7 separate regions of the Homo sapiens genome follow, and regions 2, 3, 4, 5, 6 and 7 are each linked to region 1. Evidence: promoter capture Hi-C in 16 types of primary human blood cells and fetal thymus (Javierre and others, 2016). All regions are on one chromosome and are shown on one strand. Each heading gives the region's core, a stretch centred on a gene start or on the middle of the fragment in contact. The rest is flanking DNA. Distances are from core to core; before and after follow the strand shown.

Region 1 (4,102 bases), core at 911-3,410:
ATACTAACTGACACACAAGAAATTGCTGGGAACTTAAATCACAATTAAGTAAAGTGGTTGCTATCACCAATTAATAGGAGAGGAAGATTTACTTAGATGAAAGATCCAGTCCATATTACACTACAGAACAATAAACTACTTCCTAAGCCCTTTACTACCCAAACCGTATAACTGTAGAAGAAAAAGCAGGAAAAGAAAACCTAGACATAATTGCTGTGATTAAAAAGGAACTGAAAGGAGACAATAAATATGTATTTTGCGAGGCCAAAGATTGGGAAGTAGGAAAATATAGAATTCAAGACATAAAACATAATCCCTACAAATGACAATGATCCAATAATTCTATTTTGAATATATACAGCATTTCTTTTATAAACTTGAAGAATAATTATATCCATTACATCAAAAAAATTCTATTTGAGGAAAGTGCCAGTCATTTTCCCTCCATTTTATTTTCCGTTAGAAAAACTAAAGTAATAAGGGGTTAAGCAACTTTTTTAACTTCAAAGGGCAAAAGCTGAATGAGCACCAGTTGTCCTGCCTTCTAGAGAAAATCATAATTTTATACAAACATTGTATAAATTGCCTTTCTTACAGATGTATGCCTAGGCAGGTGAGTGTGTATATTATTTGGAGGGGTGGCTAATACTGAAGTTAAATATAGTGGTGAGAATGTGGAGCACATCAAGTTCATAGCTTCACAACTTCATAACCTCCTTCACTGTAAGATTTTTGTCCAGGACACCCCTATTCTGCCTTAACACCTTATTCTATGAGGCTTAGCTCAGGTCTTGCCTTCCCTGACCACCCTCTGAGCTGGATGCCTCTTTCCTTTACCTCCACTGTCCCTGTCCATAATCCTGTCTTTCTTAGGCATTATCACTTTGATCTGAAATGTTCTGTGGGCGCAGCAGCCTCTCTACTTGGCTTTAAGTGCTGCAGGGAGCTTATTCACTCTTGCATCCTCATCTCTTAGCACAATGCCTGGCATAATGTCAGTGCTCAGCAAGTGTTAATAATACGTCCTGTCCTTCCAATGTCCAGTAGTTATTTCAGTAACTAAATCCTCTTTTTTAAAACCACCTTATGCAAAGTTAATCCTCTGTGGTTCAAAAAGTTCCAAGACAACTTAAAAGACAAATTTTCCATTACTTTGTCATCTCATCTGTCGAATTCATCTGTAATTTGTCTAATTCAGCATCTCCCACTGTGTGTGTTCCCATGAGTTGGACTCCAAGAGATGCTCTTGGTAAGCGTATCTATGTGGGAAACATGTTACTCAATCTAGCAAGGCAGCCAGTGCAGTGGTTTAGCACACAGGTGCTGGGGGCAAACTGCAGGCTCTGTCGGGCAAGTGATCATTCTGTGTGCTTCTGTTTCCTCTTCTGTAAAATAGGACTAATAACAGTTTTTCTCCCTCACAGGGTTGTTGCCAAGATTTGCTGAGTATTACACAAAAGGTTTGGAGTACTTAGTGCTAGGAACATACTGACTACTATTATTAAGCAAAGTTAAACAATTTCTTTTTCTTATTTGGTTTTATTTTGTTTGCTGGCTGTAAGACTGCTGAGAGCCTTTAGCATGCTGATGTACCCATGAATCTCCAGGGAAGCAGTATTCCCCACATTTACTTGATGGAAGAGCTGCTAGCATATCTCAGGGGTAATGGGCCTCAAAACATACCTTAGGAAATTCCTATTTATAAATTTAAAAGAACGTTAACATTTTCCAAACCCAAATTGGGACACTGATTTGACCTGTATGGCTATAACTTGGGAGCATTGGTACATAATATTAATATTTGAAGAGAGGACTGGTCTAGCAACACAAGTAAATAATAATAATAATAATAAAAGCCCAAGACCTATGTGTTACTACAATTAAAATATTTCTTTTTTTAAAAAATCAAAGTACAAGTGAAGTGACTTTTATTGATATTAAAGTGGGAACTGCAAATATGGCCCAAATAAAAAACCATGTAGGCTTTACGTATTATTTTCTGACACAGTTAAAAAACTATTACTTGACAAAGATGAAGGGCCAGACTTCCTTATTCAAAACCTCACGCCATTTATCTTAATTCTGCTGCATCTGATACTGACTTCCTCTAGAGCCAGGAAACTTTGCAAGTATTAAATAGCGTGAACGAAGGAGGGAAAGAAGGAAGTAACCCACCAAAGTGAAAAAGAGGAACAAGTTCTAACCCAATGCAGGTTTAAAACATAACCAAAAGAACAAAAGAGAGAGCTTGACACACCAATCTTGAGGTAAGTAAGAACCTGATTTAAGGTATTTGGATGATTAAACACTATAAGAAACAAGTTTGTCTTTAATTAATCAATGATTTTTATCTTACTACAGTTTTTAGAAAAAAATGCCTTACGTAGCTGTAAGGGGGAAACCCAATTTACAAACTGAGAGTGATGTTAATGTTTCTTTACAATATGATTATGCTTTGCTGTTACCTTGTTTCCAAACAGCAGGGCATTCTCTTACTTGAAAATTCCTGAAGTTTCTCAACAATTTGCGATTTTAAGAAAAATGTCAAATTGTTAGGTAACCTGTTGGAACTGCTTTCCAAAATGAAAACAGAGTCTTCTTTCAAACTGGTCAAAGTGAACATTATTTAAGTGTTAAACTATATTTGAATGGTTATTGTTTAAAATATGTTTTTCATTATAGTAGGTCTTTGTTCATGTCTCACAGGTTTTTTCCTCTAATGTTATTTCGAAGAAAATGATGCATTTCTTTTTCTGTAAAAAGTCTTCTTGTCTTTATCTTGGTAAATATCTCTTAGACAAACAATTTTAATATTTTGGATGTACCAGAATTTCTACTCTACATAGAATAACATAGATGGTAAAAATGCCTTTTCTTCTTAAAAATTAAGAGAGTAATTTATTGCCTTATCCTCAGCTACAGAAGTGACAATAGTTAGCCTTCCTCAACCCTCACCGTGACTTCTGTTGCAGGCCTAGTATCTTTCAAAAAGTTGATTAATTTCAATCAATACTTAAAGTGTATTTTGTAAATTTATTTCAAATATTCTGGCAAATAACTTCTTAAATCATTAACCATGTATACCATAAAATATCTTGCAGATAATTGGTGCTCATCTGTTTCAGACAGGAAATGAGGTCCTAATGATTAAAGTCATTTGGCTAAACTTTTGTCCTTGAACACAAGCACGGCTGGCCTTATAAAGGAGGGACCCTGCAGATTGTAAATCTTATGTGGCGGACCATACAGTTCTCAACCTCAATATTACTCCCAAAAATTCCAAGGAGATTAAAATGTTTCTGCATCTGGGGTGCTTGTCCCTGTATTTTTATCAAAAAATTGTATAAATTAGCTGCACATCTTATTTAATTTTCTTTTATGAAATGTCAAATTAAATATTTGCATATTAATATATTCTAACCTTGGACAAATTTATGAACGTTCATTACCATTAAACTTTTCATGAAAACTCACTGAAAGCAGAGCACCACTTTGTGAATTTCTATTTTTCTTCTCATTGTTACTATTATTATCCCATAAGGAGATTACTTCATTCATTAACAAATGTCTAATAGATTAGTCATTCTGTGTCTAATGCTGGTGTTGGTAATACAAAGGTAAATAATATATGATTTCCAACCTTCGAGAACCTCAGAGCTAATCAAGCTATACAAATTTTCTGACTGATGCACTTAGTAGCATGTTACAGATATTTGGATAAATAATATTTTGGGGAAATTTTTACCTGAATTCTCATTCAGTCACATTTTGGTTGTAAGGAAGTTACTTAACTTCTTTAAGCCTCTCTTCTTATCTATAAAATGGTGATATGAATAGTACCCACTACATATAGCAGCTATAGGATTAAATGAGATAATCCCTGTAACAGTTTTTAAAAGCTGAAACTCTTAACTAAACATTATTGATGATAATAACATTCCATAGATGATAATAATCATTTCACAGGCACTGTTGGATCTATGTCTATGTCTAGACTGAAAATATACAGTAATAATGTTTTGTTGATAAAATCACAATGGAACATGCAGCCCAGTTGAACACTTCCCCTTCTTGTCTCCTTGCCATTTTAAAGCATCAACAG
Region 2 (4,102 bases), core at 625-3,124, 1.2 Mb before region 1:
TCTTCCCCCTCCCACAAAGCCTATTTTCTATCTGTATCATGAGGCATAAATGATGTGTGTCTATGACTCCTTTGTAAAACAGTTTCCAAGTTTTGCTTATTAACCACTCCTGCATTTGAGGATAAAGTGACGTCTGTGGTGACAGATCATGGGATTAATAACAAATGGTTGGACCACTGCTTTCTTCCCACTTAATAAATATTCCATGTGTAATTGAATCCTGTTGAATTAGTTGGGCCACAAAGGCTTCTTCCTCCTTTGCTAGGAATGCAGCCAGAGTTGTGCTTTAAAAGACACGTGTGCATGTGCTTACACTGAACAAATTCCCTGGCAGAAAGAAAGTGGTGGAGGAGTTAGAAACGCAGAGAAAAGCAGAAGGCAGCACCAGAGGAAGGATGTACGTGAAAGCCTCAGTACATTATACAAATGAAATGGTGATATATTCCCCAGGAGAAGGAGACAATGCTGTTTGGGGCTTCATACATCCTGTTTCTTCTTGTGATTAAACTGAAAAAAATTAATGATGTTGGGAAGGAGGGAAAGCTGAAGGAAGACCAGAGCCTGATACCTTGGGGTAATGATGCTGCCTCTGTCTGTGCCTTTTTAATGCTGACAGGAGCCACCCCTTCTGCCTAATGGAGAAACATAACCAGTTTCCATGCAGCTTAGAATAGCTGGGGTTGAAGAGAAGGTGCAGGGTTTTCCTTTTTTTGGCTCAGTGCCTTTTTAGTTAGTTCAACCAACTCGGCTGGGGGACACTGGAGATAGAAGTGTGACTGTTGTTCCTCATCCATAGGGGCAGGCCACATGGGCAGACTACCTGACATTTGTATCCTGCTTCCCTGCAGGGTGAGGAAGTCTCATGAACATAGTCTCCTGAGCTGAAGCAGGGGAGGGCTCTGGAGAAAGAGGACCTGGGTGCAGATCCTGCTCATTCAGTGATCCCAAGACCTTGGGCATATTTCACTATCAACTTGCCAGGGAGAATTTCCAGTGCTGAGGATAGGGTGGTGAACAAAGGAACTTTGGTTCTTGCAGGGAAACAGTCTAAGAATAAGTAGCAAGAAAAGAAAAGAATGGCAAATTTTGATAAAGATTTCAAAGGACACTGAGGGGCTGAAAAAGTGATGCTGGGGTGAGCTGGGAAGAGGACCAAGTCAGATATACTTCCTACATTCAGGGGACTCATGTCCTAGTGGGAGTGAGACATACATATACACCTGCACACATGGTGGAATGCTGCAAAGAAAACAAACAAGGGCCTAAGAGAGGAAAAAGGCAGGGGATGCAGGTGGACCCACGTTGGTCAGGGGAGGCCTCTAGGAGGTGACCATCGAGCTGATAGAAGATGAGAAGGCTGGCCTTCAGCAACAGGAGCAGAGCATTCAATATGAGAACCAAGAACAGCCTATGCAAAGGGACTGAGGAGGGAATGAACTGGGAGCACCCAAGGAAGTGAAGGAGGCTCAGTGCAGCTGGAGCCTGTGAAACAGGATGTCTGGGGAGGAGCTGAAGCCAGGAGCCAGGTCGGAGTCCTATAACATGAAGTTGTGTGGGCTCTGATGGGGACTTTAGAGTCTCTTCTAAGTGCAGAAGGCACTTTCGGCAGGAAAGTGATATAATCCAGTTTATTTTAAAAGACATTTGTGCTTGCTGTTATTCTTAAACCTCTGTATAGTGGGAATAGTCCATAGTACCTACTTCAGAGGGTTGTGTGAGGGTTAATTGCGGTCTGAATATAATGCACTTGGCCCAGTGTCTAGCGCACAGCAAGTTCAGGGCACATTGTTATTCATCTACGTGCAAAGCTGGCTTCAAGGCCATTGAGCCCACCTTATTCTAACTTTGGCAGTTCTTCCCATAGCCACTTGGAGCTGCCTTACAAGGTGAGGTCAGATTGTATTTGTGTGTCTATGTCTCTCTACCTACCTGCCTGCCTGCCTACCTCTATCTCAGTCATCTTTATATATTACTGGAGTAGCCAGAGGTAGGGTTAAGATTTTTCTCAGAACACAAATTTGGATCTAATCCAACAGTCAGACAAATGGGCAGTCAAGTTCCAAGTTCCCAGGTCCTTGCTATTGTTATCATTTTCATCCAGGGGCTATGAAATATCTACTTTGGTCATAAAATTCATGCAAGGCCACCATAGAATACTAAACTTTAAGCTAAAACTATCAATGTTGGACATTGTCTTCCACCTCCTTTTTGTTCTCTACCCTGCTGTCTGTGCTGGGGGCTGACCTCCACGGACCACATCCCTTCTGACTGCTGGATGATGTGGCCAAACACAGGAGACTGGAGGACAGACAGAGTGAGAGGTCAGGATATGTATTCCTTCTGCTTCCTCCCTATCCAGCCACCTTCCTCTACCAAAGGCCACAGCTCCTGTTGTGGTGGCCTCCTCTACATTGCTGGTTTCTCTGGGTTCAGGTGACCTCTCTTTCCTCTTACATCTTTAGGTCAGGGATTGTAGCAATTTTCTGCTATTTCTAGCCCAGAGGTGCTTGTTGGTTTCCCTTGATCCTGCCCACACTTTGATAAATAGTCTCTTCATCGAAATTATTTTAAATCACCCCTTTTTGTGTCTGCCATCTATTTCCTACTGGGACCCTACCCACCCACATACTCTCTAAGCTCAAATGTTTTAAAAATGTACCCTGGTTATTAGGGCACTAACCAGCTAGATGCAGGTATATTTTAATATTCATCATATTTTAATATTTCTAAGATGTACCCCCCACACACATATTTTAGCACCTCTGAAATCAGGATGAGATTTGCAAATGGTGATGTTTTACTCTTGCTACTGGCTTGGCATCTGTGGGTGTTTTCTTGTGCATGTGTGAACTTGGTCATTCATTGCTGGTCATGGAGTCCTCATTTTAATGGAGTTATGTTTGTTGTTGGTACTATTCAATGGTGTTTAAAGTATTTCGGTAGGTTTACATTATGATTCAGCTCTGGAATGAAGTCATTATTTACACAGAGGCATGGAACAGAGCAGCAAAGCATAATTTTGATGTCAGTGAAGCAAATATCCATCTTGGCAGAATGGAGGAAATTCCATATTTTTTAAAGGGCTTTATGGGACTTAAAAAAGGAAGATACTCATAAGTAGTTGGAACTGTGTTATATGTGTTACTGAGATATGTGCAAAAGGATTGCCTATAATAGGATGAGCAATGTGACTAAAGGAAGTAGGAATTCCCAAATCCTTTGGAATAAATCAAAGAAATTTCAAAGAAACAAGGAGTTGGTGTCATTGATTGGCAGTGTTTTTTATTTTTTTCTTTCTTAGTGGCACATACAATACTGGTGTGCTTTACAAATTGTTGACTCCTTAGATTTGATGATCTATGGTATTTTTTAGAATGCTATTTTCTGGACTCTAGCCCATTTATTGACTCCAGTCTTACCTCTCTGGTGAATTTACAGAGAAACAAAGGCATAGCATTCATCTCCAGGCTGGTGGAGGATGTGCTTCTTAAGTCTCCTTCTTCCAGCCCCAGATCCCACATACTCTAAGGGTTTGAAATTTGAAAGTTGATGAGTTACTGAACCTCCAGGGGAGTCTAGGACCTCTCAGAGGCCAAAGGCTTGCTGAATGTGCTGGTGTAGAGAGAAGACTGCTGCCCCAGGAATGTTCTCCTTAGCTGGGGTGATTGAACATTTTATCTCATGGTCCTGATGGAATAAAATAATAGGCCTTAAAATATAATTCTAGAAAGAAATTAGGGGGAAATCAAGTAACAATTCAGTGGAGTAGGAACATTCAACCCAGGGCATCACTGCTGTTTTCTTCCAAGCTTCCGATGCAAGACCACTTGTGGCCCTGCTGGGTAAGCTGGGGAGGGAATTACCAACAAGACTGCCCCTCAGACCCAGGCTGCAGATTCAAAGCACTTTATTTAGGAAGAGTTGAAGGTACTTACACACACCTATTTCCCCAAATGGCAAGAAATATGATCTTTTTTGAGTATGCATTTTGAAAGTATTTGAAATACCCTTTTTGAAAATATCCCTTTTCAAATATGATCTTCCCAAGGGCCATATGCTGATGGAAAAATGACTTGAGCGTGGAGTGAATTTGTGAGATGCC
Region 3 (4,102 bases), core at 1,066-3,565, 1.1 Mb before region 1:
ACGTAGTTCTCGAGCCTTGGTTTTCAGCTCCATCAGCTCCTTTAAGCACTTCTCTGTATTGGTTATTCTAGTTATACATTCTTCTAAATTTTTTTCAAAGTTTTCAACTTCTTTGCCTTTGGTTTGAATGTCCTCCCGTAGCTCAGAGTAATTTGATCGTCTGAAGCCTTCTTCTCTCAGCTCGTCAAAGTCATTCTCCATCCAGCTTTGTTCCGTTGCTGGTGAGGAACTGTGTTCCTTTGGAGGAGGAGAGGCGCTCTGCTTTCTAGAGTTTCCAGTTTTTCTGTTCTGTTTTTTCCCCATCTTTGTGGTTTTATCTACTTTTGGTCTTTGATGATGGTGATGTACAGATGGGTTTTTGGTGTGGATGTCCTTTCTGTTTGTTAGTTTTCCTTCTAACAGACAGGACCCTCAGCTGCAGGTCTGTTGGAATACCCTGCTGTGTGACGTGTCAGTGTGCCCCTGCTGGGGGGTGCCTCCCAGTTAGGCTGCTCAGGGGTCAGGGGTCAGGGACCCAGTTGAGGAGGCAGTCTGCCTGTTCTCAGATCTCCAGCTGCGTGCTGGGAGAACCACTGCTCTCTTCAAAGCTGTCAGACAGGGACATTTAAGTCTGCAGAGGTTACTGCTGTCTTTTTGTTTGTCTGTGCCCTGCCCCCAGAGGTGGAGCCTACAGAGGCAGGCAGGCCTCCTTGGGCTGTGGTGGGCTCCGCCCAGTTCGAGCTTCCCCGCTGCTTTGTTTACCTAATCAAGCCTGGGCAATGGCGGGCGCCCCTCCCCCAGCCTCGCTGCCACCTTGCAGTTTGATCTCAGACTGCTGTGCTAGCAATCAGCGAGACTCCGTGGGCGTAGGACCCTCCAAGACAGGTGCGGGATATAATCTCGTGGTGCGCCATTTTTTAAGCCCCTCGGAAAAGCGCAGTATTCGGGTGGGAGTGACCCGATTTTCCAGGTGCCGTCCGTCACCCCTTTCTTTGACTCGGAAAGGGAACTCCCTGACCCCTTGCGCTTCCCAAGTGAGGCAATGCCTCGCCCTGCTTCAGCTCATGCACGGTGTGCGCACCCACTGACCTGCGCCCACTGTCTGGCACTCCCTAGTGAGATGAACCTGGTACCTCAGATGGAAATGCAGAAATCACTGTCTTCTGTGTCGCTCACGCTGGGAGCTGTAGACCGGAGCTGTTCCTATTCGGCCATCTTGGCTCCTCCCCCCGATTTTACCAGCATTATTTTTCATGGGAAATTCACAAGGACAATTTACCAGTTTATAGTTTTTGTCATATTGTTTCATTTTGTGGTTATTATGACAACCAAGCCCAATTTGCCCAATTAAAATGTTACAGATCCAAATTTAGTCAAGAAGGACTTGTCTGTCAACTGTTTACCATATGAAGTTTTAGTTGTGGCTAGTTTCATATTCTTTTGATGAATATTTCCCCATGTCAATTTTTAGTTATTGAGAAAATGTGATTATTCAATCAAGCTTAAAAATAAATCTGTTAAAAATTCTCTATGTACATTTTTAGTTTGTCAGTTATGTTGAGTTTACTATTTCTAGTGGTCATATTTATTATAAATTTAATGCAAATTAAGAGTTTATATGATATTTTTCTCAGCTAATCCATGAAGACACTGGAGCAATACTCCTCAGCTATTCCAAGGCTGATTGGCCTATTATTTTGAGAATCCAATCATTCTGTTCGTTTTGAATGACTTTATGTGCTGGATATCAAAGGTCCGCACTTGGTGGAGAGAAGAGAAAGTGATAATGCCAAAATGGTGTGGGTATTAGAGAAGGTGGGTTGAGAGTGGAGAAGTGCTTTGCGTGATTCAAGTCCCTGGAAGCAGATGGGCAGTGGGTACAGAAGCCAGTTTGATGTGACATTGTGGGTACAATGAGAAGCAAGTGCAGAGAGTAAGGATTGTATCTCGAAGAAGCCTGACAGAGAACAGGAGGGTAAATACACACAAGAGCTAGAAGTTTGAAACTTTTTAGGATGGTGCAGATTTGACATGTTTGTGGGCTAGCAGGAGAGCATCAGCTGGGAGAAAAGACAAAAATGCAGGAAAAGGAGATTACCAACAGAGCAGTACCAATGAAGAAAAATGAAGGAACAAGAGCAAGTGCTCAGGTGGAGAGCTGGCTTCGAGTTGGAGGAAAGGAGATTAAAATTGATGCAGGTGTAGGTAAAATAGTCTTAATTTTCTCAGTGAGCCAGGAGGCAAAAGTGGCCTGCTGAGTGGGCAAGGATAGTTGAAGCTGGGTTAGTAATGGGCTTGACAACTCTTGCTTTTGGTTTGCCCTGCAGACTTTCCCATCTCCCTTCTGGTAACAACATCCTCTTTCATTTGGGGAGCTCTCCCCTGTGGATCACAGGATTTGGTATGTGACCCAAACTGGGTCATTTGCTGAATGGAGGAAGCCTGCTGTAAGAGTAAGTGAATAGAATCAGAAGGTCAGTTTGGGTCCTATTAGATTTAAGATGTCTGTTACACATCCAAAAGGAAATGTTAAGTAGGCAGTTGGATATATAAGTTCAGAGCTCAGGGGAGAGGTTAGACGTCATCTGAGTAAATGGCATGACCTAGAACTGGATAAGATCATCTATAGGGTTAGTCTCTGTTAGTTGGAGGGAGGGCCAAACAAGAAGTCCTGGGGAGTTCAAGGCTGCTGTGAACTGTGATTGCGCCACTACACTCCAGCTTGGGTAAGAAGAGCCAGATGCTGTCTCTAATAAATACATAAAATTTAAAATGAAGGAAAAAATAAGTCCTGGTGCATCATTCAGCACTAAAAGATGAGGAAGAGGAGAAAAATGTTCTGAGCTAGGAATAAACCTGGAGAGTAGGTTGGGTGTGGTGGCTCATGCCTGCAATCCCAACACTTTGGGAGGTCAAGGTGGTAGGCTTGCTTGAGCCCAGGAGTTAGAGACCAGCCTGGACAACGTAATGAGAACTCGTCTCTACAAAAAACAAACAAAAAATTAGCAGGGCACAGTGGTGCATGCTTGTAGTCCTGGCTACTCAGCTACTCTGGAGGATGAGGTGTGAGGTTTGCTTCTGCCCGGGAGATTGAAGCTGCAGTGAGCTGGACAGCACCACTGTACTCCAGCTTGGCTGACAGTGTAAGACCCTGCCTCAGTGAAAAACAAACAAGCTTGGGTGACAGTGTGAGACCTTGTCTTAGTGAAAAACAAACAAAATAGCCTGGAGAATATGGATTTTATTGAAGGTATGTGAAGAAAGCAAAGAGGGAGGTCAAGGGGAGAGGATAGCTTGAAGCCAGGACTTTGAGACCAGCCTGGGTAATACAGCAAGATCCCCATCTCTAAAAAAAAAAAAAAAAAAAAAAAAAAAGCAAAAAGAAAATTAGCTCAGTATGGCGGCACATGGCTGGAATCCTAGCTACTTGGGAGGCTGAGATGGGAGGATCCCCCCAGAAGTTGGAAGTTACAGTTAGCAGATTGTGCCATGCCTCTGTACTCCAGCCTGGTGGAGGAATCAGCTGTGAAAATGTTGCTGGAGGTCAAGTGAATTGAGGACTGTATTAATGATTGGATTTGGCAAGGTGGAAGTCATTGTCTTCAATAAGACCAATTTTAGTGGAGAGGTGGAAATTAAAAGCCTCCTTAGAGTGGATTGAGAGAGGGAGAGAGTGGGTTGAAAAAGAGGAGGCAGGAAGTATAGTAATCCTTTGAGGAGTTTTGCTCCAAAGGGGAGCAGAGAAATGGAGCAGTAATTGGAAGTGGAATGAACACAAAGGAGAGGTTTTGTTTTGTTTTGTTTTGCTTTTTAATAAGGAAGTATTACAGTATGCATATATGCTGCTGGGAATGATCCCATAGAAAGGGGTAAAATTGAAGATGTAGGGCAGAGAGGGAATAACTGTTATAGCAAAGAGAGGATGGAATCAGTATCAAGTGGAGAGTTTGGGCTTAGGTAGGATTAAGTATGGCTTATTTTTTGTCATTGGGATGTGTCACAGTATACAGTACAGTTGAAGCCAGGTTGATAAAGTTGCTGATAAGAAAATGAGGCAATTTTGTATTAATTGCTTTTAGTTTCTTAGTGAAATAAGAAATAAGGACACTGGCTGTGGGATTAG
Region 4 (4,102 bases), core at 708-3,207, 1.1 Mb before region 1:
TTCTATGAGAAGAAAGAAGCCTATAATCTATGCCCAACACATCATTGACATTTATTAGAGCTTTTCAAAAAGCAACACATGGAGCTGTATTGTCCAGAGAGAGAGAGAGAGAGAGAGAGAGAGATGGAGAGAGAGAGAGAGAGAGAGAGAGAGAGAGAGAGAGAGAAAAGCAACACAGATTAAGGAATTCAAGTTGCAGGTGCAGTTTCCACTGTATTTTACAGAGATGTTGATAAAACAAGAGATTTTATGTGGCTGTCAGCACCTCCAGTTTAGTCACTAAAAGTAATTGTGGGGTTCATGAACATCAGAGATCCTTAAATTATAGTTTGACACTTCATACAAATTTGGTCCTGATTAACCCCTGGAGGGGTTTGGTGGTAATTTATTGAGAGAGGTGATTTGGTATGTGCACACATGCATGCACGTGCGTGCGCACACATACACACAAACGCATATATGTGTGTATTTATACTCAAAATGTTCCTCCTTCCTAGAAAATGATTGAATTCTTATGAGTGAGCATATTTAGTCTAGATGCAGATGAATTCACTTATTCAGAGAACATTTATTGGGGTTATGAGCATTTATTGAGGGCCCCAGAGCTAGGCAGAGTGCACTGATTAGTATATGGCTGTTTGGGGACTACTGAAAATAATAGTCCCTTTTAGAAGACTTATATGTAGGATTCTACAGAACCACTAACCTAGCAGAAAATGGGAAAATGCAGAAAGATTTTTTGAAATAATTACAATACAGTGAAAAGAATGTGAAATACTAAATTATAAGACCCTAGAATTCATCATTTACTAGCTGCTATGACTTCAGGGAAGTTGATTAGCATAGTTTTCAAACCTATAAAATAGTAATGGTGTTAATAAAATAAAGTAATAATCCCCAACTTGCAGGGTTGTTTTGAGGATGTGAGATGACATATCTATCTAAAAGCAATTTTGTTAATAGAAAATTAACTCCAGAATATTAGATTAACACATTTTATTGTGATGTTGTGCCAGCTTCATTTTATTTGCAAGCACTAGAGGGTCCTAAATTTATAAGTTAGTCTGTAGCAATAATCAGAACCTTTGATTTCCTACTTGAAGCATGCCACTTTATTTTGAATTAATGCATAATCTGGAATGAGGTAGAAGATTTAATAGTATAATGCAATAAGATTTAGTATAATGAAGGAAATGACTACACAGGTCACAAGATCGCATACATTTGAATGATACAAAGCTTAATTAAAATTAATTTGTTTTATCCTTAATGATGAGGCCAAAGCAAACATTATTTTTATGTCTTTTACAAGTGATGTCAAATAACTAATTCTGAGGCAAGAATTAAGTTAAAAGTAAAATTTACCGAAATCTGTGAATTTGATAGGGAAAACAATGTCTTATATTGCAGTATTGAAGTTTATAAGAATCAGACTACACTTTATACTTAAATTTTTTTCCTTTGGTTCATCTAAGGCAGCTACTTGCTGGGACTTTGCATACTTTTATTTATCTATCAATCAGCCTGCACTCTGGCTTTTAATCAGGTTGGTGAAAATCCTTACCACGTGATTATGAAATGATTTCTTTTTTTGATTAAAATGGTAGGAAATTTAAAAGAAAAAGAAAATTAACTTTATAAATATTACTTAGCTTCCTAATTAATAAATAACTTAGTTATAGAAAATTGTCATTTATAGCATAATGTATACATACAGGGTGGCAATTTTCCAAAAATTTGAACACAATAAAATACATTAATAGAAAAATTCCACTGAACATTTAATATTTTTGGATTATTCTGAAGGCATGTTGGGGTTTTGGCATGTCTTTAAATTGCCTTACCCATTACCCCAGTAGATATGGGATAGTAGGATAATCAATTAACCTTGGGACGAACAGAAAAACACTTTTCTACATAGTGTTTAAAAATAAACCTTGTCCTTCCTATGATTTTCACAGATGCTGTGATGATCATCTTTAACTAAAATCTAAGACCCATTATTATTTGCAACATTGTCCCTTCTCAATGATTCTGTTTTAAAATATAATTCCCTTGAGACAGCACCAGCATGTTATTGGGAATTAGTTTTTATCTGCTTTTTAGACTTCTTCTATAATGGGAACAAGGCAGGATAAACACCCTCATTCTCTGTGGGATGAAATGAGGTTTAGAAAGATGGAGTCTTTCTAAGTGGAAGTAGAAGTATGAAGCAGGTGAACATGTTTGCAGTGACTTCTACTTACTGGAATTGTTGCACATTAATCTTCCCAGATCCCAGATCCTGCCATGTTACTCACCCACTCAACAACTTTCAATGGCTCTGCATTGACTCCAAACTTTCCACTCTCCCATTACTCCCCTCTACACATTACCCTATCCTTCATTTAAACTGGGTATCTTATTCTTTCTTAAACATGGCCTAGTGTCCTTCTTCTATTTCTTTGCTTCTCCATTATCGCCATCTTTCCTAATCTAGTTTATGTTTCATGACTCCACTCAAATCCACTTTCTTCATGAGGTTTACTTTCCCCTCTCCCTCACCCCATCCAAATAAATATATTACCTTCCCTCTCATTTCCAAGGCACTTTCTTTGTGTCTTTTTCACATCATGTATCATAGTGTGCCTTTTATCGTAATTATTTTAGTGTTTGACTAATCCAGCCACACACTGTAAGCTTATTGAAAGCATAAAGAGACTGTGTCTTCCTCAACTTTTTAACATATTCATAATATGTTGCAATTATAATCCAGGTGAAACGGACTATAAATAAATTTTCACTGATTTTTTAAATGTAATGTACATATGTTTTATCTCTCCCATTAAAGGAGATGTTCCTTGATGGTGGGGATCATATCTAACTTACTGCCCATATCCTCCACAGCATTTAACCAGGGTTCTGCACAGGAGCAAAGTTCTCAATACACATTAATGAAACGAGTAAGGTGGTAGATTGGACACACGAATGAAAGAATAGATGAATGGACAGATAGATAGATAGATGGAAAGATGGATGGATGGTCCAAAAATGATAGACTGGATTAAGAAAATGTGGCACTGTAGCCTTGTAGTATAGTTTGAAGTCAGATAGTGTGATGCCTCCAGCTTTGTTCTTTTGGCTTAGGATTGACTTGGCGATGCGGGCTCTTTTTTGGTTCCATATGAACTTTAAAGTAGTTTTTTCCAATTCTGTGAAGAAAGGCATTGGTAGCTTGATGGGGATGGCATTGAATCTGTAAATTACCTTGGGCAGTATGGCCATTTTCACGATATTGATTCTTCCTACCCATGAGCATGGAATGTTCTTCCATTTGTTTGTATCCTCTTTTATTTCCTTGAGCAGTGGTTTGTAGTTCTCCTTGAAGAGGTCCTTCACATCCCTTGTAAGTTGGATTCCTAGGTATTTTATTCTCTTTGAAGCAATTGTGAATGGGAGTTCACTCATGATTTGGCTCTCTGTTTGTCTGTTGTTGGTGTATAAGAATGCTTGTGATTTTTGTACATTGATTTTGTATCCTGAGACTTTGCTGAAGTTGCTTATCAGCTTAAGGAGATTTTGGGCTGAGACAACGGGGTTTTCCAGATATACAATCATGTCGTCTGCAAACAGGGACAATTTGACTTCCTCTTTTCCTAATTGAATACCCTTTATTTCCTTCTCCTGCCTAATTGCCCTGGCCAGAACTTCCAACACTATGTTGAATAGGAGTGGTAAGAGAGGGCATCCCTGTCTTGTGCCAGTTTTCAAAGGGAATGCTTCCAGTTTTTGCCCATTCAGTATGATATTGGCTGTGGGTTTGTCATAGATAGCTCTTATTATTTTGAAATACGTCCCATCAATACCTAATTTATTGAGAGTTTTTAGCATGAAGGGTTGTTGAATTTTGTCAAAGGCCTTTTCTGCATCTATTGAGATAATCATGTGGTTTTTGTCTTTGGTTCTGTTTATATGCTGGATTACATTTATTGATTTGCGTATATTGAACCAGCCTTGCATCCCAGGGATGAAGCCCACTTGATCATGGTGGATAAGCGTTTTGATGTGCTGCTGGATTCGGTTTGCCAGTATTTTATTGAGGATTTTTGCATCAAAGTTCATC
Region 5 (4,102 bases), core at 544-3,043, 1.1 Mb before region 1:
TTCAGTTTTCATATCTTCCAGGAGAATGACTTCAACACCTTCTGAAAGACCCCTGGAGTATTGAATACACTTTTTGTTACTTATCTTCCTTAAACGGCTGAGTTGATGAAAAAAAAAAAAAAAGGTCTGGGATAGGTTAAGATTTTAAAAAACTTTTATCTTTAAATTTCATTTATTATTATTATGTCTCAGTTTTACATTTTTATTTTGAAATAATTATAGTTTCACAGAAAATTACCAAAAATATATGGGGAAGTCCTGTGTATCCTTCACCCAGTTTCCTCTAATGGTAACATTTTGCGTGACTATAGAACATTATCAAAACCCAGACATTGGCATTGGTACAATTGGCAGAGTTTATTTAGCTTTCAAGGGTCAGTCTCTTCCCTCATTTGCCCCCGTCAGGAGGATCTTACTCTCCCAGACTTGTTCTCAGCCTTTCTGGGGACAAATGAAGGAAGCAACTGGGGAGAAGAAACTAACCAGAGGTTTGGAGATGTTTCTCAGGTTATTTTGAGAACAGCCGATCCGGTAGGTGAGAGAAGTGGGTAAGAAAATAAATGGAAAGATTTTAAGTATTGCTGTTGAGTGTGAGTAAACTCTGTTTTTCCTTTTCTCTCACACCCCAACAATTAACACAGAAGACTTCTGTGACCAAATGTGGTGGTGGGGGTTCCCTTATACACCAAGCAAGCAATCGCTTCTGCAGCAGGCACCAGCTGGGCGTCCTCCAATTCAAATCTGACACTGTCTACTGGGAGATACCATCAGATCCCACAGGTTGAGGGCTCAGTCCCACAAGACCACTCTTTCCTTCTTACCAGTCGTAAGTCCAGGCCTTCTGAACTTCTGACTGACTGGCTTCAAGTTGGGGTTTCCATGACCTCCTCTTTGAGTTTAATTAATTTGCTGGAGTGACTTACAGAAGTCAGGGAAACACTTATGCTTACCAGTTTATTATGACGGATATCTGAAAGGATGCAAATAAATAGCCACATGAAAACATGCATAGGGTGAGGTCTGGAATGGTCCTGAGTGCAGGAGCTGCTGTCCTTGTGGAGTTGGGATACGTGCCCCTGCTCTAGCAGGTGGGTGAGTTCTTCGCCTTCCTGCCAGCCTCCATGTGTTCAGCGCCCCGGAAGCCCTCGAACCCTGTCCTTTGGGCCTCTTTTGGAGGCTGCATTGATTGTCCATAATTGAAGCAGAGACAACTGTGTCAAAATGTGATTGGATAAGAAGAGTATGCTCTAAACCCAGCAAGGCCTGTCTGTTCAGATTCTTTTTGGCCTCTCTGTGCAGCATTCCTTCCTCCTGGGAATGGGGCAGGACCTCTTCTGAAATGGGGTCTTATGACCTGCAATCAGACAAGGTAGGTCAGGGAATTTCTTTTTGGCCAGTGCAAGACAGAAAGGTAGGGAACAATTAGAGTATATTTTTAGTTCCTAAGGCCTGCCTTGGGAAAAAAAGGGAGCAGGTGAAAGGAGGGCAGGAGACGGTCAGAGAGAGATTGTATTTTCTCAGGCCTGCTTCTGGGATCTAAAGTGCTCCAACATTACAACAAAACACTGTCACAAGCGCTATGGGAGTTACGAGCCAGAAACCTTGGATGAAAACATATATATAAAATAGTATCACAGCTGTAGTCTCTGGGTGCGCCCCTCCCCAACCCATAGTGTTAGAGAATTTCAAGTAATGACTTTTATTTTGCAACCTCTTTCAGGTGTTATAATATTGTTTTCTAAATGCTGTCTTGACCCAGTTTTGAGGCCCTGTCTAGAGGCCAGTTTCCCTGCCTAGACAGGCGACTGGCCCACGCTTCGACTACCTCCGCTGGCTACTGTCCACCCACACCGATCACCCCAGGACCAGTATCACACAAGCAGGGACAGCCCCTGTGCCCCAGAGCCCACTGAAATTATTCCAATTAGTCCATCCTATGCCTTTTGACCCTGCCTCGCAAATTCCTTCCCTGTAAGCCACAAAAAAGGCGTTCATCCACAGATCCCCCTCCCTCTGCCTCCTGAGGGGGTCCTGGTTTCTTGTGTGACCTCTATCTTTTCAGTGATGTCGTTTCTTGGCCTTATCACACTTAAATAATTAGAAACCTATTAAAACAGGTGGGTGGACCCTTTCACTGCACCACTTCTTTGGAAAAATAACTTTATTTGTTTCAGATCAAGTATGGCAAAAAAGAAAAGAAAGGATCACTCTGTGGGCAGCCTGTGGCTTTGTTCTCCCGTGCTGTTCTGTAGGTTTATAGTGGGTAGGGAGGATGTGTGGGTGTGGCAATGTGTATGTGTGTGTGTATATAATGTTTGCACTATTTTTTTCATGTAACTTAGCTTTAATGGAACTTATATATGAATAATATACTATTGCAATGTATCCATACTGACAATTTTAACTACTTTATAATATTGTATTTTATGAATGTACCATCACTTACTTAACCGTTGCTCTGTTTTTGTCACTTTGAGGGTGCTTATTTATTTATTTTTTTCAATAGTTTTCTACCTACAATACCACATAATGAGGCAGATGTGCTTCATTTGGAGTTTGCGTTGGGGAAGGTCTAGCCTGGCAGTTTGATCAGAGGTCAAGTTTCAGAAGTTCAGAGTTTTATTTTATTTTATTTTAACCACTAAAATGACTTGCTCATGAGCATCTTTGTACAAAACTTCTGTGTGCTCTTGGGATTATTTTCTTGGAATATTTGACTTAAAATTATAATAGTCTCCCCTTATTGGAGGTTTTCATTTTGAAGTGTTAATTGTCCTCAGTCAACTGCAGTCTGACAGTAGGTGAGTATAGCACATAAGATATTTTGAGAGAGAGAAAGAGAGAGAGAAAGAGAGATGACATTCACATAACTTTTATTATAGTATATTGTTATAATTGTTTTATTTTATTATTAGTTATTTCTTACTGTGTCTAATTTATAAATTAGACTTTATCATGGGTATGTATATATATGAAGAAACATAGTCTATATAAGGTTTAGTACTGCCTGTGGTTTCAGGAATCCACTGGGGGTCTTGAGGTGTTTCCCCTGCAGATAAGCAGGGACTACTTCCATATTAAGTTAAAAGGCATTTGTATTTTTTCTCTTTTTATGTATGTTGCCCAAATCTACAGCTAACTTTTGCATACTTTGTCAACAGAAAATGTTTATACTACATTCCATAATATTTAAAAATTAAGGAAGAATTATAGAGGTAGAATTTTAAAAATTAAAAACAAAACCTCTCCATGGACCCCATAAATACATAGACCTACGATGTACCCATAAAAATGAAAAAGTTTTAAAAAAACAAACAAAACCTCATGCACATCTTATGTTGTGGAATGAAATTTGGAAAGTATATCTAGAAAATAAGATTCCTGCTCAAGACCTACTGATCAAAATCTCTGGGAATGAGACCTGATAGCTTACATTTTAAACAAACTCCCGAAGTTATTATTATTATTATTATTTGAAACAAGGTCTCACTCCATCACCCAGGCTGGAGTGCAGTTATGCGATTATGGCTCACTGCAACCTCGACCTCCTGGGCTCAAGCGGTTCTCCTATCTCAGCCTCCTGTGTAGCTCAGACCGCAGGCGCATGCCACCACTCCTTGCTAACTTGTTGATTTTTTTGTAGAAAAAGGGTCTCGCTTTGTTGCCTATGCTGGTCTCGAGCTCCTGGGCTCAAATGATCTGCCTGCCTCAGCCTCCCAAAGTGCTGGGATTACAGGTGTGAGCCATTGTGCCCGGCTCCTCAAATTGTTCTTTTGTGCACAGAAGTCCATTTTATTTTACAAGTAAGGAATGGAGGCTCAGAGAGATTGAATGTCTTGCTCAGGGACACAAGTCCTGGTTTACAATGCAGATGGTTTTGAGCATACTATGAAAATGCCAAGCCAGAAGTCATTTAAGAGTCATTAATTCCTGCAGACTCCTGCTCATGACAGCCATCTCCTGATCTAACCTGCTATAGTTATGGGTCGAGGGTTAGTTCCATTATAATCTCTTTTTAACGTGGCATTGTCATTCAACTTATTTTTGCTTCACTCAGTAGAGAAAGCCTATTTATTAAGCCATTAGTCAATTTGCTCTTTTT
Region 6 (4,102 bases), core at 772-3,271, 1.1 Mb before region 1:
CGCATGCCTGTAATCCCAGCTACTCGGGAGGCTGAGGCAGGAGAATTGCTTGAACCTGGAGTTGGAGGTTGCAGTGAGTCGAGATCACGCCACTGCACTCCAGCCAGCCTGGGTGACAGAGTGAGACTCAGTTTCAAAAAAAAAAAGAAAGAAAGTGAACCAAGAACAAACCAAAATGCTTCACACACAACTTCTTGGAGTTTCCTTAAATTGAGTTATAGTTGATCATTTCTTGCATTTTAAACAACTTTCTTGGTTGATTTAGTGGCACAATTTTCCAAATTGATATTTGGTTTTTGACATCAAGGGCTAAAGAGTTTCCTTGCTTTTGGACTTGTGGAAATTTAGCTGTTTTTGTGCTTGTGGTCACTAGCTGACTCTTGACCCCACCAGCCCATATAGAATTGTCCTATATTAATTTGATGTTATATTATGTCTTAGTTGCACATCTAAGTGTTCTGTCAATTTATTTATTCAATAAATCTTTATGAGTGACCCTGAGTTTCAGGAATTGTATTATGTTTCAGGGATAGAGTGGTAATAGAGACAGCCCCTTCTTCCATGAAATGCAGAGTCTAGCAAGGCCTGTACACATTAAGTGATGAATTATTAATGCAGTAGTGCTCTGCTAGGTGATATGCTGTGAGAGGGACCCAGGCAGGGCTCCCTAAGGGAAGTGATACTGATATGAGATCTGAAAGAGGAATGAATAAAGTGATAAGTAGAAGAATATTATATCCAGAAGCAACTGCATATTCAAAGACCTGGACATAAGAGAAGTCTTGCGGTATTTGAAGAACTGAAATAAAACTCATGATTGCAGTGGAGAGCATGATGGTGTTGAGAGGTGAGGTGGGACTGAAGCCATATGAGGGATTTATTTCTTCCAGGAGTTTCCCTGACTGATTTCTGATAACAAGAGGTTACATAGTCTAGACTGTTGCTGAGTTTGCAATGATGACAACATGTTTGAACCTCCTTGAACATAGCAGTATTTTATCGCTCTTTGGTGACTAATGAAATTTTGTCTCTGGTCAAGTAATTGGATTCTTAGCATGACACATTTTATTTCAAGTCAAGAAGACACAAGTATAAAAGACTAGTGACTGAATGCCTCGAGTTTATATAGAAATAAAAAAGACTTGGAACTAGAGAGTCTTTGTTTTGGATGGTCTTTCTGGATTTCCTTTGTTAGTCTTTGTCTTTTGTCTACTTTTTTGTCTTCTTAAACTTTGTCTAAATGTTGTCAAACAGAACAAACAAAGCAAAAACAAAACAACAATAGATTCTGCTTCAGAGCTGTGAAGATCCAGGCAACTTTGATGCTTCACAGTTAAAATTTTCCTTTCAGTAGCTGCACTTGCAATTGTCTCCAGCACCAGCAAAGGAGTGGTAAGAGCATCATGGTTTCCAAGATCCAACTTGTAAGGCACGTGGGAATGGGATACTACCTAAGAAGGAATTCTAGTCTTTTATTCTATGTAGAATAAAAAAAACTTATCTTTGTTAACTAAAACCCTTGACTGTTTAAAATAATATGATTTAGGATAATCAATAAATATATTTATAGAGATGCGCTATATAGCATATCTGATATAAATGTTTAATTCATTCCTAGTGGTATGTATAGAGTTTCACCTATGGCTCTGTCTTGCCTTACTCAAAAAGCAGAACAATTTCTTTCTTAGAAAGAAAGCTACCAGTGCCCAGATGCCCACTCCTATTCTTTTTAGGGAATGATAATTTGTTCTCCTTTGAGCCCAGATTTCTCAGTGAATTCTCCAGTATGCTCACAGCTCTCCCTCCAGATATTTTGAGAGCTTGGAGTCATAGTCCTGCATTTTTAAGGAAGCTGTGAAAATCCACATGAGCTCTCCTTTTCCAGCTGTAGAAAAAACTAAATAGTGTCCCAACACCACTGTTGGTTGAGAGTCCTTTGGATCTAAGTTTTCTTCTTCTGTATTCTTATGGGTCCTCGTGAAAAACAAATGTAAGAGAATAGCAGAAAATAAAATACACTGGCAGAAGGATTTTCAATGTTAAGAACTGGCCTATGACAAAACTGGCCATTTTACATCTTTGTCATATTTATAGGTTTACTTTTCTAATACTTATACTTTTGATTTGCGGCGGGAGCTTGGAGTCGGTAAGGTAGCCATAGACAGGAAGATTTGTACAATGATGGAAAGCTAATAAGCACTTGAATTTTGTTAAAGAAAGATTCTCAAATCACAGTATATTTTTGGCAGTACAGAAAAGTATTCTTCTGGGGATAGAGGGAGTGTCCACATAAGTCAGAATGAAAATGAGCTGGGAAGGTGGGTAAATTTCCCAACTCTGGAATTTGTGGCAGAGAGAGCAAATAACTGCGGCTCTCCTGGCGCCTGGTTGCTCGCACCATGTCGAGGCCCAAGCACGCGAAATCCCAGCACATCATTTCGGAGGAGGACCAGGGCGAGCAGCAGCCGCAGCAGCCGACCCCCCCGGAGTTTGTAGATGTGGCCCCCGCGGTGTCGGCGGCGGGGGAGCTTGGTGCTCGGTGGGAGAAAACGCAAGTCTATGAGAAAACTCAAGTCTATGAGAAAAGTTCTTTAGCATCTCTGAGTTCTTGGAACGTAAGAAAAATTGCACTAAAAATCCACCCGTCTTCATCATGAATGATGGCGAGGGTCCAGTGCCTTCAGAAGACATCTCTGAAGCTGTACTGAGCCACCAGCCACCCAGTCCAAGCAGTGAGGATGGCCACAGGGAGAATGGGAGCAGCTCAGGGGACATGAAGGAGAAGCTGGCCGTATCTAAAGACAGAGACGGCCCTGTCACCCACCCCCGAGTAGATAAGATATTTACCCAAAGGCAAAGTGGCCAACACTAACGTGTCCTTGCAGGCACTATGGGGCACCAAGGTGGCTGTGAATCGGCGGAGCGCAGATGCCCTGCCTGCCCCTGTGCCTGGCGCCAACAGCATCCTCGAGCCGATACTGTGTCTGTAGCAGCAGAAGCAGCTACAGCAGACCCAGCTCACCAAGCAGATCCGCATCCCGGTGAACACATTAGCCTCTCGCGCCTGCACTCCAGCGGGGCGGGGCCGACACCCTGAAGACCTTGGGCAGCCACATGTCCCAGCAGCTTTCTGCAGCTGTGGTTTTGCTCAGCCAGAAAGCTGGAAGCCAAGGTCTGTCTCTGGACGCCTTGAAACAAGCCAAGCTACCTCACGCCGGCATCCCTTCTGCCACCAGCTCCCTGTCCCCAGGGCTGACGCCCTTTGTTCCAAAGCCGGATGGGACCCGGCTGCTCCCAAACGTCATGTTCTGCCTCCCCAGTGCTTTACATCCTCAGGCCCCGGGCTCGCTGCTCTTCCAGAGCCCTTTCTCCACTGTGGCGCTAGACCCAACCAAGGGAAGGGAAGGGAAGCCACCGGACATCTCCGTGGTGGATGTCAAATCGAAAGATGATGCCGTCCTCTACAAGCACAAGTGTAAGTGCTGTAGCAAGGTTTTCGGGACTGATAGCTCCTAGCAGATCCACTTCCGCTCCCACACTGGAGAGAGACCCTTCGTGTGCTCTGTCTGTGGTCATCGTTTCACCACCAAGAACGACCTCAAGGTGCACTTTTGCTGACATCCCTAGGTGAAGGCAAACCCCCAGCTGTTGGCCGAGCTCCAGGACAAAGTGGCCACAGGCAATGGCATCCCCTATGCACTCTCTGTACCCCTCCCTGTAGATGAATCAAGTCTCTCTCTAGACAGCAAACCTGTCCTTGTAACCCCCTTGGTAAAGCTACCTGAGAATCCTTCTTTGGTGACTAACCCCAAGGACATCAAGGGTGGCCCCCGGCCAAGCAACTTGCAGCCTGGGCCTTCTCCAGAAAGTGAGGGTGGACCTATACATCCTGGGGTGGGACCAAACATAATTCCCAAAGGACTGGTGGCTTCCAAGGGAATGGGACCACCGACCCCAACGAATGTCTCATTTGCGACCAAGTCTTAAGCTGCCAGAGCTCCCTCAAGATGCATTACTGCATCCACAAAGGGGAGAGATCATACCAGTGTGAGATCTGTGGCCAAGTCATTTCTACCAAAGGTAACCTGAAGACACACCTTGG
Region 7 (4,102 bases), core at 793-3,292, 1.1 Mb before region 1:
CAGGCTGAAAGATGTTAAATAAACTATAAACATATCTTAGTAATAAACTGGAAAGTCTGATTAAAATTGTGACTTCTCAAAATCTCTATGGAGTACTACAATGGTGTAGTGTGGGAGAATGCATCTCCGACCTGACCCATTCATTTCCCTTCTTGGAATCAACTCCAATCAATACCTGAATGGGCCTTGTGTGCCCACATTCCAGTTCTATCCACTCCTCCTCCAAACAGCTGCCTCTTGGGGTTAAGTGGCATACACCAGCTGTGCAGTTTATTCTTAAGAGGTCACATCTGGGAGGAAGCCCACATAAGACCTGGAAGCAGGCTTGGGATGTTTGGGCAAGAAACTCCAGAGTCTTCAGGACCCAGAGAGTGGTATCAAAGGGGGATGTGATTCACCTTGGCTGTGCAGGCTCCTTGACTGATATAAACTGGTCATAGGCACAGTTGGGTATCTAAGGCAGGACCCCTCTTACCTGGGTCTTAGGACAGCACTGAAATATATCAAAGGTACATTGAGAATACTGTTCCTTTGTAGCTTTGATACATTTGTAGAACACTATTGTTAGGTCTTTCCACTCTGACTTCCCATCATCTTTCAGGGCTGGCTCTCACCTGCTGTAGAAAACACACAAACCCCACTGATGAGCCTCCAATGTAGGTGGAACGAGTCCAACCAATCTATTTCCTCTATGTTACCGACCTGAAATGACTCCCTCCTGTATTTCCTTGTGTTAAATTTTGCCCTCATCTCACTGCTAGAAGTCCAGGTAGCCCCTAGTACAAATTCACCCTTTGGAAAAGCTGTGATTTAGTGCCAGGTCTAGGAGATGCTGTGTAGCAGGTGGATGGGGAGCCTTAGGCCTCCTTTCGATTCTCCCTCTTGACTCCCAAAAGTTTCTTCTTCTCAATTGTCAGATGCCTATTCTCTCATGTCTCATCTGCCACCTTTACCCCCCACCACCCTTATGCATTCTGTACTTTGAAAATACCTCATCTCCCCCAGTCTTTTTTGTGCCATTTTCTTAAGCCATCAAAAGTCTCTTCCCTTCAGAGAAGCTGTGTGAAGTGTATAAATTTTTTTTTGCTACATTAATCCATTAGAAAAACTTGTAAGGTAAGAAAGTTCATCTTGAAGCCACCAGGCTGTCTTTTCCCACCCTTGTGTTGTCCCCATTGTGCTGTTTCCATTTTCTCTTTTCTATCAAATCAAAACCAGCTCTCAGGAAAGAATACTCATAGGTAATTTGTGGTATCTTGGAAGTGGCATAAATGACTTGGTCTTCCAAAAGAAATGTTGCTGGTGGGGGCTGGGGGGAGCAAGTATTCTGGGTCACTTGAAAAGGCCGTAGAAGTCATAATATGTTGGGTGCCTGAATGCTCAGCCTCTGTATCTGCCATTCAAAGGGCCCTGCAAAGCAAGGCCTGTTATAATCCAGGTGTGTGTCTATATGCACCGAGGGTCACATTGTAGAAAAAAAGTGCAAAGACAACAATTTATTCCTAGTTTTTGCAAATCAGGATTGTCTTCTCCTTAGGGCAGGAAAATGAACTGGAGGAAGGAGAATAAACACAATGCTGAAGAGCCTGTTTATGGGGGTTCAAGCATTTCTGTTTCCTTCCTTGCTTTGCACCTCCTCACTCTCTTAACACTCAGATTTCTGGAATGGACCCAGGATGCAAATGTAGCTATAGGATTTGGATGCAATTCCTCTATGTTCTCTGCCATACCTCCTTTCAAAATGAGTCAAGAAGAGAGAAAACATAAAGATCATCTTCTCTTTTTAATATAAACAATCTGTGGCTGCAGGAAAAGGGGTTGAAACACGAGGGATAGATATTACTCAGGGTGACAGTCGGCCTTCTGCAGAATGACCTTTACTGACTGTTTATCCTGACTGTTGGAGAGGAAGGCCAGGAAATGCTTTCAAAACGTGGACACATCAGTAACCAGGATATATATATGTTCAGTGACTGTTCCTCTTCTACCAACTGAAATGATACGCAGTTTTATTTCTATTTTTACAAAATAATTGAAGCGAGTTCGTTGCTTTCTCCAGGGAAGTAACTGAGACATAATTTCAAGTATTAATACAACAGAAGTCTTAAAGGTATACGTGGCACATGATGCTTGAACTTTTACAAAATACTTTTCCTTAGAGGAAACTTTGGAGGCTGAATGATGTTATGGATAGAGTTCAAGTTTTGAAGTTAGATCTGTTTTAAATCTGTTTCCCTGTATGAAGAATGGTGTTGCTTATTCTCTTCGATCCCATTTCTTTCTGTATAAATGTAGTAACAACATTTAAATCTTTCTTGATTGCTACAAGGGTCAAATGAGAAAATCTATGTGAAGTGTCTGGCGGGGAGTTGATGCTCAATGAAATTTAGTTTCCTTCTATGGCCAGAGACTGCTTGTTGCCTAACCAATATCCATATCCCCTTTTCATTTAGTACAGACCCTGATTTCATTCTGATGGCTGTATGCTCAGTAATGAGGCCATATGTCCCAGCTTCCTTTGCTGCTAGAAGTGGTCATGTGATGTAGTTCTAATTAATAAAATGTATACAGTTGTTGGGTAAGGTTCTGGGAAAGTGCTGTAAAGGGGAGGACATCAGCTAATCCAGACTTTTTCTATTCCTTAACTCCTTCTCCCTATTTCTCCTGGAAAGCAGACATAATGGTTGGAGTTGCTGCAGCCATTTTGGATCATAAGGCAACTTTGAGGGTGCAGCCATGCGCTATTAATCAGAATTGTAGAGAAAGATAGGTATCTGGATCCCTAATGACACTGTAGAGCTATAGCTGCCTAGGACTGCCTACCTCTGGACATTTTAAAAATATGTGTGAGCTGAAGAAATTTTTATCTTGTTGAAACATCTCTCATTTCTAGCATCTGTTATTAAGCAATGGAATACAATTCCTAACTAATATGCCTTTCTCTTATACTTATTTGCTCTTATTTAATCCTCACGTTTATCCTGTGAGTTAGTTTAGTTTTCCCTATTTTATAAATAAAAAACCTGAAGTGAAGAGGGTTAAGTATTTTGCTCCACATCACTCAGCTATTCTGGGTTACCACTGATTTTTAACTTTATTATCATTGCTCTTTCTACCATAAAGGGTAATCTGTTGAGTTTTCCCAAGACCCTTTTACCCTAGGTCTTGCAGCCAGTGTGGCATGATGGTTAGGAGGCCAAACTCTGGAGCCAAACTACCCAAATTTGAATCCTGGTGCTACCAGTTACTGCTGAGAGATTTATGTGCAAATTGCTTGACCTCTTTGAGCCCCAATTTCCTCCTCTATAAAATCGAGATAGCAACACCTCATAGAGTTGGTATCATCCTGAAATGAGTCAGTGTATCTAAAATGCTTAGAACAGTGCCTGGTATATAGAGAGCTATTAAGTGTTAGCTATTACCGTTCCTTTTTCTACATCAGGCAGACAAATCCACTCATTGGACACAAAATCTCTAAAACCATAGCTAATCTTGAAAGATTTTACCATATTTCTGAGGTTTCAGATTTACATCAGTGTTATGGGGCATGAGTATTCTTAGCTAATTCAGAGTCCTTAGCTAATCCTGAGACCTTCCTGTGATCACATGGTTATGAGTGGGGGCTCCCTGTAATGGCACCCCTGATGGGCTGGGAGCCCAGGAATCCCTGGTGGTGGGAATACCATCTTTGTTATATAGGAAATGGGAGCAGGTGGCTGATAGGATTCTGGGTGAAGAATACTGGGGCGTGAAGGACTAAAAGTTAAGTATAGAATGGAGGCTCGAAAAGACATGTTGATATCTTAGGAAGAAAAATATAATTTTCTAGACTGGAGCCAAGAAAGAAAAAAAAACACACATAAGGGAAGGCTGTAAGGGAAGGAAATAAAATTTAAAAAGGGCAGAGAAATTCTCAAGCCTGGTGAGGTCTGGAACTTACAGACTTTAAGTCCTCGGGATTTTCACAGTATGCCAACCTGATATGCATATTTTCATTTCATGGTGGGGAGGGATTAGGGGAGCAATTGTTTCCCGGGGGAACATTCTCTAAAAATATAACTTTTTACATAGGTTTTTTTTTTTTTGAAAAGGTAGTGTGTTT

Evidence for each region. The method cuts DNA at HindIII sites, captures the fragments that hold promoters and counts their contacts. A CHiCAGO score of 5 or more calls a contact.
Region 2: a fragment that was not itself captured here is called in contact with the fragment with the promoter of GAPT in region 1 in 1 of 17 cell types (naive CD4 T cells); the score reaches 6.8 in naive CD4 T cells.
Region 3: a contact is called between a fragment that was not itself captured here and the fragment with the promoter of GAPT in region 1, in 3 of 17 cell types (naive CD4 T cells, total CD4 T cells and total CD8 T cells). The highest score is 7.5, in naive CD4 T cells.
Region 4: a contact is called between a fragment that was not itself captured here and the fragment with the promoter of GAPT in region 1, in 3 of 17 cell types (naive CD4 T cells, fetal thymus and total CD8 T cells). The highest score is 9.0, in naive CD4 T cells.
Region 5: a contact is called between a fragment that was not itself captured here and the fragment with the promoter of GAPT in region 1, in 4 of 17 cell types (naive CD4 T cells, non-activated CD4 T cells, naive CD8 T cells and 1 more). The highest score is 6.6, in naive CD4 T cells.
Region 6: a contact is called between a fragment that was not itself captured here and the fragment with the promoter of GAPT in region 1, in 5 of 17 cell types (activated CD4 T cells, naive CD4 T cells, naive CD8 T cells and 2 more). The highest score is 7.1, in activated CD4 T cells.
Region 7: a fragment that was not itself captured here is called in contact with the fragment with the promoter of GAPT in region 1 in 1 of 17 cell types (non-activated CD4 T cells); the score reaches 5.1 in non-activated CD4 T cells.

What each region holds. Positions count from the first base shown.
Region 1 is chr5:58,489,275-58,493,376 of GRCh38, forward strand. GAPT (GRB2 binding adaptor protein, transmembrane) reads left to right here and starts at 2,161. Exons shown (of 3, transcript NM_001304431.2): 1 at 2,161-2,267. The HindIII fragment of the contact is 6,945 bases long and covers 1-4,102 here.
Region 2 is chr5:57,332,344-57,336,445 of GRCh38, forward strand. No RefSeq gene overlaps it. Among named protein-coding and RNA genes, the nearest start is that of RMEL3, 61 kb to the right of the region's middle. The HindIII fragment of the contact is 3,865 bases long and covers 1-3,807 here.
Region 3 is chr5:57,356,318-57,360,419 of GRCh38, forward strand. No RefSeq gene overlaps it. Among named protein-coding and RNA genes, the nearest start is that of RMEL3, 37 kb to the right of the region's middle. The HindIII fragment of the contact is 1,674 bases long and covers 1,479-3,152 here.
Region 4 is chr5:57,374,619-57,378,720 of GRCh38, forward strand. No RefSeq gene overlaps it. Among named protein-coding and RNA genes, the nearest start is that of RMEL3, 18 kb to the right of the region's middle. The HindIII fragment of the contact is 1,440 bases long and covers 1,238-2,677 here.
Region 5 is chr5:57,394,648-57,398,749 of GRCh38, forward strand. It overlaps RMEL3 (enriched in melanoma 3), which reads left to right and starts at 460. Exons shown (of 4, transcript NR_186596.1): 1 at 460-531. The HindIII fragment of the contact is 8,479 bases long and covers 1-4,102 here.
Region 6 is chr5:57,420,067-57,424,168 of GRCh38, forward strand. All of the region lies in intron 1 of RMEL3 (enriched in melanoma 3), which reads left to right. It also overlaps the pseudogene SALL4P1. Among named protein-coding and RNA genes, the nearest start is that of RMEL3, 27 kb to the left of the region's middle. RefSeq lists an enhancer at 1,470-1,639. The HindIII fragment of the contact is 5,113 bases long and covers 1-4,102 here.
Region 7 is chr5:57,436,505-57,440,606 of GRCh38, forward strand. All of the region lies in intron 1 of RMEL3 (enriched in melanoma 3), which reads left to right. Among named protein-coding and RNA genes, the nearest start is that of RMEL3, 43 kb to the left of the region's middle. The HindIII fragment of the contact is 5,886 bases long and covers 1-4,102 here.